2 separate regions of the Homo sapiens genome follow, and region 1 is linked to region 2. Evidence: promoter capture Hi-C in human tissues and cell types (Jung and others, 2019). All regions are on one chromosome and are shown on one strand. Each heading gives the region's core, a stretch centred on a gene start or on the middle of the fragment in contact. The rest is flanking DNA. Distances are from core to core; before and after follow the strand shown. Region 1 overlaps KLHL32 (kelch like family member 32). Region 2 holds the start of FHL5 (four and a half LIM domains 5).

Region 1 (3,485 bases), core at 420-2,919, 550 kb before region 2:
TTAACTGTTGAAATATACATTTAAAGAAAAAGGAACAGTAATTAGATAAATGAGGTTTTAATTTAAATATATCTACATATACTAACATACATACTTGTTTCTAATGTTTCTTTGGTATAGAGCCAGTAAATGTTGGGTCCACTTCATCTGTCTGCTTCCTTAGTCCTAGTCTTCCCTTCATTCATTAATTTATTGAGCACTTAAACCCTGATGTGAGCTAGGTTCTGTCAATAAAACTCAGTGAATTGCCAATAACTGAGGCACCGCTCAGAGAAGCTGAGCCTGTGACTATCTTCCTGGTTATTGAGGACAGCAGAAGAACAGTCAAAGTCCAAATGAATTTAAAGAAGTGCAAGGGAGAATTTTGTCAGAGCAGGTGTTAGAACACTAGAGACGATTATTGAGGAAAGCTGAGAAGCCTTTGCAGGTGTACTTAAAAGTAATGATTTCTTCTAAGTACAAACATCAGGGTTATTCTTAATATTTAAGTTTTTTACCCTTTCTATTCCTCTTAGTGCTTGATGACACAGAAATCCAACAAGTTCCATTTGGATTACAATATGAGTATCTTCCAACTGGGAGAAAATGCAGCTTTCTTCCTGATAGAAAAACCTTTCAAAGGAGAACACTTAGGGCCTTTCTCAAAACTAAGATTGAAAACACATGTTTATAATGTGATGTTGATAGCATATGCCTCACAGACTCCTTCTGTATAAGCAAAAAGGCAGCCCAGAGGGGTGTGATGGGTCTGTGGGTGTAGAGAAAACAAGATTGGCAAGGAGTAGTTAATTGTGGATTTTGGGTTGTGGGTACATGGGGTTCATTATTCTAGTCTCCCTACTTTTTCCATAATCAAAAGGTTTTCAAAAGAGATGAAAAGGTAAACTAGAGCTCAAACTGTACCATCAGTAAAAATAGGAGAGTAAATAGGAATGAAGGGTTAGAATGGCACAAGTAACTACCATTCACGGATAATTAAAAACAAACAAACTTTGTTTTAGGCTGGGCACAGTGGCTCACGCCTGCAATCCCAACACTTTGGGAGGCCAAGACTGGTGGATTGCTTGAGCTCAGGAGTTCAAGGGCAGCCTGGGCAATGTAGTGAAACCCTGCCTTGACAAAAATTACAAAAATTAGCTGGGTGTGGTGGTGTGCTCCTGTAGTCCCAGCTATTTGGGAAGCTGAGGTGGGAGGATCACTTGAGCCTGAGAGGTGGAGGTTGCAGTGAGTCGAGATGGCACCACTGCACTCCAGCCTGGGTAACAAGAGTGAGACCCTATCTGAAACAGCAACAACAACAACTTTGTTTTGGTAACTTAAATCCCTTCTCTCAATGCACAGCATAGTGATTACTTGGATATATACCTATTGATATACCCAGAAAAATGGATTAACTGGGCTTATACTTCTCTTGCCTTGTCTTTGATGAAATGGCTCTAGTCAGGTAGCCAGGGGTGAAAGAAAAAGCAAAGGACCTAGATAAACCACAAGCTGTGCAATACAATCCATGAATAATCAAGAGCTGACAGGAGAAGTTCTGGTAGGAAAAAAACAGTTGTGATGGACCAACAATTTCCACCTTGAATTTTTATTCCATTAGTCACTCAGAAAGTCACAGAAAGGCATATTATTTCCAATTACATTGCTCTCTAGAGTAGGTGCTCAATAAATGAATGTTAATTAGCTAAAATGGCATGCTTGGTTCAATCTTTCAATTACACATGGCCACAGTATTAAAGCTTGACTTTTAAATATATACCACAATGAAAGTGTGTTTTGATAAATCCAACATGAGGTATGTTCTACCTGATATCCAAAGAAGACCATCAGCCACATATCCAGCATGGCATGAAAGGGATCTGTCAAAGGACTGAACAAAAGTCCATTTGTTCTTCTTGGGGCAATATCGCTCAACTGTAGGCAGAACCTGGCGCAGTTCATTTCTGCCCCCAACTGCATAGAGGTATTCCTCCATGGCACCCAGCACAAAATGCTCCCGGCAGTTTTTCATGGGTGCTATCTCTGCCCAGGAATTACTGCGGGGGTCATAGCGACAGGCAGTCCTCACAGCACACGTCCGGCCACTGGCATGCTCAACTTCCCCTCCTGCCACAAACAGGAAGTCCCCCATGACTGCCACACAATGGTGGCTCCTTCCCACAGGCATGGGAGCCAGCTCACTCCAGTTGGCAATGGCAGCTATGAGAGCATTCTCCTGATCAACAGGATTGAAGTACCGAAGTTCCTTGACCTTGCAGACCTCGCGCTTTTTCCCACCAATGATATACAGAGTGTCTGACTGGAATCGTGGTTTGGTCCTGCGAGTCTGCCAGACAGGCTGTGCATAGATGCTCTGGTGGTATTCCAGGGCCTCGTTGACAAGGGCTGTTGCAGTCTCACTTGCTTGGACAAGGGGGTGGGACAGGGCAACTGTATGGAGAGTATCCACATCCATTAGGCCAAAGCGGATGTATTGCAGGAGCTCGTCCATGTACTGGTAGTGGCAGTTGTGTTCCAACCACCTCACAGCTAGCTGAAACAGAGGGAAGTGAGATGAGAGGAGACACAAAGGTAAGAAAGAAAGAGAAAGCAACAGCATATAGGTAGGTTACCTGTATTCTTCCAGGCAGGTAATAATACAAACTTTCTTACAAACAGTATAACTGGAATATTTTGAAGCCCATGTGAGGAACTTTTTTTCCGTCTCAGCAAAGACACAAAAGCACTCAAGACATTGCTGTAGGGGTAAGAAACAATGTGAAGCAACACTGATGGGGGCTTCAGATACCATTTGGGGTGAACAGTAATTGATTTTCAAAGAATGAAAATGCTGTTGTGAAACAGCCTGTTCCCTTATGTTTCATGCATAAGAGGCTCAGTACACCCCACCACCAGGAAATGTCAATGGTGGGAGGTGTCATCAAAGCTCAGGTAATATATGTCAACCCATAAGCCAAGGTGCTGTATCAATATGAGTAACGTAAGAAAATATGTGATCATCTGAGACCACAGGGTGTACTTGAGAGAAAGTCAACATAACACTAGCAGAATGATTTAGAAAGAAAAAAGACTCCCCCTCCCACCCCACATCCCTTTAGTAGGTATAACAGTCAGGAAGCAAGAAAAGAAAAAATAAGATTCTAACCTATTAATTTTTTCTCTCAATTAACTTTTACCTTGAAGACAGTTGTAATTTGCACATGTAAGATACTGGAAATTTGTTAGAGTCGTTTGCACAAAAACAGAATATAGAGGAGATCATCTTTGTATTATGAACATAATAGCAGAATGTAATCCTAACCTTTTTATTCCTTTCAGATCTCTTCTAAGAAGGAAAGGAGTTATAACATTTTGATATGAGCAAAGAGAATTTCTTAAAACTAAAGCAGGTACATTGTCATACATAATAAAAATTATTGTTTAATTTTGTTATAATAATTTTATAAATAAAATTATATATTTATTATTAAATAATAAAGAATATT
Region 2 (3,351 bases), core at 420-2,919:
GAAATGCAAGCTGGTTTAACTAATATCTGATTCAGAGCTTCCCATGCGAACCCAAGTATTCAGCTTTCATTTCTAAAGAGATCATGTTCCCTCGATTGAAAAAATAAAAACAGACAAATTAAATATCTGTCTCTAAATATTCTCTAAATCTCTAAATTTTCTAAACTCTTATTTGTAATATTATAGTAGAAAAGTACCCAGTCTTATGTAAGAAACACAGATTAATTCAGCTTTACTCAAAATGTTGGTAAGTGTAATAAAAATAAGAGGTAAATTTGTCAGTGAGGTGGTGTTATATTAAAACACAAATCTACTACTCTTGCTTAGGTAGAACAGTCCCAGATTTGGCAACTAATAATAATGTGAGAATAAATAGAACAAGTGTAGAAAACAGACACTAGAGTTTACCTTCCCCTTAAAGCAATTTGGATTATGGCTTAAAGCATATATCATAACACATATGTTAAGAAATATCTTGTATGATACATATGTTTGCAATACCTATGTTAAATTTTAATCCATATGCTTTGCTAATAAAAATGCTAGTATTTACACATGATGGTATTGTGGATATAAAATGAGGGCTAAAATGGCTCAAGGATTTCCTTACATTTTATGTATGAGAGCTATGCATTTTGTTAATAATTCTTTTTAGTTTCCAATTTTCTAAAGTCTGAAATGACAGCTGAGGAGCTGCATTTGGTTTTCAAATGAATGATAGGTACCAAAGAGGATATGACTAAAATAGTGAGAGAGAAAGCATTAACACATATGGGATGTATGCTTTTTGCCTGAATAACACTACCTCTGTTTCAAGAAGTAGCACTTTAGATTGATATAGTCTATTATATATTTCTGTGGGCTGGAAACACAGATATTTTAATTTAACCTTAGAAAATTAAAGATTATGAATTTTTGTATGCCCACTTCTGGAAAGTAGGCAGATTTTTCTTGAAAATAGCAGGAATCTCATTAACTCCTTTTACTTAAAACCTGTAAGTGACTTCAAAATGTGCTCTTGAAATATAAATCTAGTCATAAAATATGCTCAGTGATAATGTTATTCATTCAAATAAATTAAGCCAAATAAAATCTCAAGAGCCCTCCTCTTCTTCCTCTTTTTACAACAATAAAGCTATACCCCACATTAAGACCATTAGAAAAACTCAAGAGGCAATTCCAAGGAGTTATCTGGCCCCTATGTTACCTCCACATGCAAGTTATAAGAATGAGAAATCTGAAAAGCTCAGCATATAAAATTTGATAACCTTTAGCTAAAATGGCTAAGAAACTTCAAAAGGCATACACTTTTGCCAAGCAAAAGTTTTCTCTTAAGTAGTTACTGGAAAGTTTATAAAAATTTCTCATCCTTAAAAAAAAATTAGAGAAGTCAAAATACCACAAAACAAAACAAAGGAAATATTTGGGGGAAAGAACTCACTTTGTCTTAAAGCCGCTTCTTCCTGTGATTTAAACAGTACGAAAGGAGAATATATGTTGATTATTTTTCCTCCAATCCACATGCATGTCAACTCCAAAAGGAACAGAAAGTCACCAGCACCATCTGAAGATCCCTTCCAACTGCATGCAGCTTTTTCAACTTTGCAGGAGAAAACAGAAGGGTCCCTGCATTTCCTCCAAGTCTTATACCGTGTACATGACTCCTACTGGGCTGAAAAAGCACTATTTGTCAATTTTTACTTAAAACTATGAGTAACAAATTCTCTGCAGGACATCCTTAAAGGGAAATTCTGCCAGGATTAGCATTCGAAGTATCTGGCTAAGCTCCAAAAAGTTTAAAATACACAATGTTCACACAGACGCATACACACTTGAGAAATTTCCACTAACTAGGCTAAATTAAGGGCATATTTATAAAAATAATACTCTAAAAGGATGATGTATTTTCTGTTTCCTCAATCTGTTTTTGGCTTTGTTTTCTTTGTTTTCTGGTGGTGATCAGAACCCTTCTTTTAGGTTAGAAATGTCTGAACCGCTGAGCTTTTCTTTTGGACATTGTCTCTTAGAATCTCCTTTTGAGGCCATCTGGAAAGGGATGAGGTCCCATGCTCTTACCTGCAAAATTATTGGTACCTTAAGAGATGGCCCCCTGGATTGTGGCCTCTATCTCTCCCTTCTTGGGAAATTGGGGAACTCTGAGACATAAGTTTGAGTAGAATACTCAAGGTAGTTCCCTGCTCTCTGGACTTGCAGTGTGGACTCAGCCTTCCCCGCTCTGCCTGCTTCCTGGTGAGCTGGCCACAATTGTGACATCACATCCATGGCTCTATGACTTCATAAAGCATAAACTCATTGAGTCTTTTGAAATCTTCAAAACACAAAAAGTGGACAGAGATGTCAAGAGTTGGATCTGAAGAAATTTTTGGATATTAAACCAATCCATAATAGGTATCCTCAGTGGGGCACACTGATTCATAAGGCAAGTGACATTTTCTCTTAGAATCTCCATTTGAGGCCATTTCTTCAGTTTGGAAGGCAGGATGAGAGAAGAAATTCTGCCTTAATCCCAGACCAAACTTAAACTGTCCTTGTTCTAACTGCTAAAGGAATGAAATGTTAATATCTTCTAAGGTCAAACTCGGGTATATACAGTCAAAGAACTTGAGCTAGAGAAATGCAGAGCCAGTTAACTGTATGTTTTGTTATTCACTTGACTTTAATGATTAAGACATTATGAAAATGAACATATGGCGACTAACAACAATAAATTTGGATTCAGCAAAAGGACACAAGTATATTTCATTAGTAATAGATTTTAATCCTTAGGACACCATTGCTAAACAGGTACTGCCTGTATTTTCCTTGTTTTATGGGCAAGGAAAGCAGTCCTTGAGATGTAAAAGTGCCTGGGACCATCACCCTCTTTATTTGCTCCCATGCTTCCTGAGAGGGTAATCTACATCCACCAAGTCATTCCAAACCTACTACATTCTGAGCCTTCTTCTCCCTCCCAACTTATTGCAATCTGTCTTTCACTTGAACCGCTCCAAAAAAGCTTCATTAAGATCATATACAACCTTGATTAGCAACCCAAAGAGTATGGTCTTCAGTCTTACCGAAAAATTCTCATCTCTGGCCATGTCTATTTCTTTCTGAAATTATCTTCCCTTGGTTTTGCTATGTTACACCCTTCTGATTTTCTGTTTGCTCTTAGCACCCTCACTTTCTCTCTATTCACCTCACTCTTCCCTAGAGCTTTATCTTCTGTTCAGTATGCTTCTCTGCAGACTTTCCATCACGTTCTTCATCAAAACAATGAACAATTTTATACAACATGACTCCCAAATGTGTACTTTCATCTGATACCACTCTTCAAGGTTCCAGACCTGT

The links. The method cuts DNA at HindIII sites, captures the fragments that hold promoters and counts their contacts. A contact is called where the count stands out against the background at its distance.
Region 1: a fragment that was not itself captured here is called in contact with the fragment with the promoter of FHL5 in region 2 in 1 of the 25 tissues and cell types used here (mesenchymal stem cells).

The regions. Positions count from the first base shown.
Region 1 is chr6:97,112,831-97,116,315 of GRCh38, reverse strand. KLHL32 (kelch like family member 32) reads right to left here. Exons shown (of 11, transcript NM_052904.4): 7 at 1,807-2,533. Among named protein-coding and RNA genes, the nearest start is that of MMS22L, 170 kb to the left of the region's middle. The HindIII fragment of the contact is 6,348 bases long and covers 1-3,485 here.
Region 2 is chr6:96,561,446-96,564,796 of GRCh38, reverse strand. It overlaps FHL5 (four and a half LIM domains 5), which reads right to left and starts at 1,669. Exons shown (of 6, transcript NM_001322466.2): 1 at 1,442-1,669. The HindIII fragment of the contact is 7,723 bases long and covers 1-3,351 here.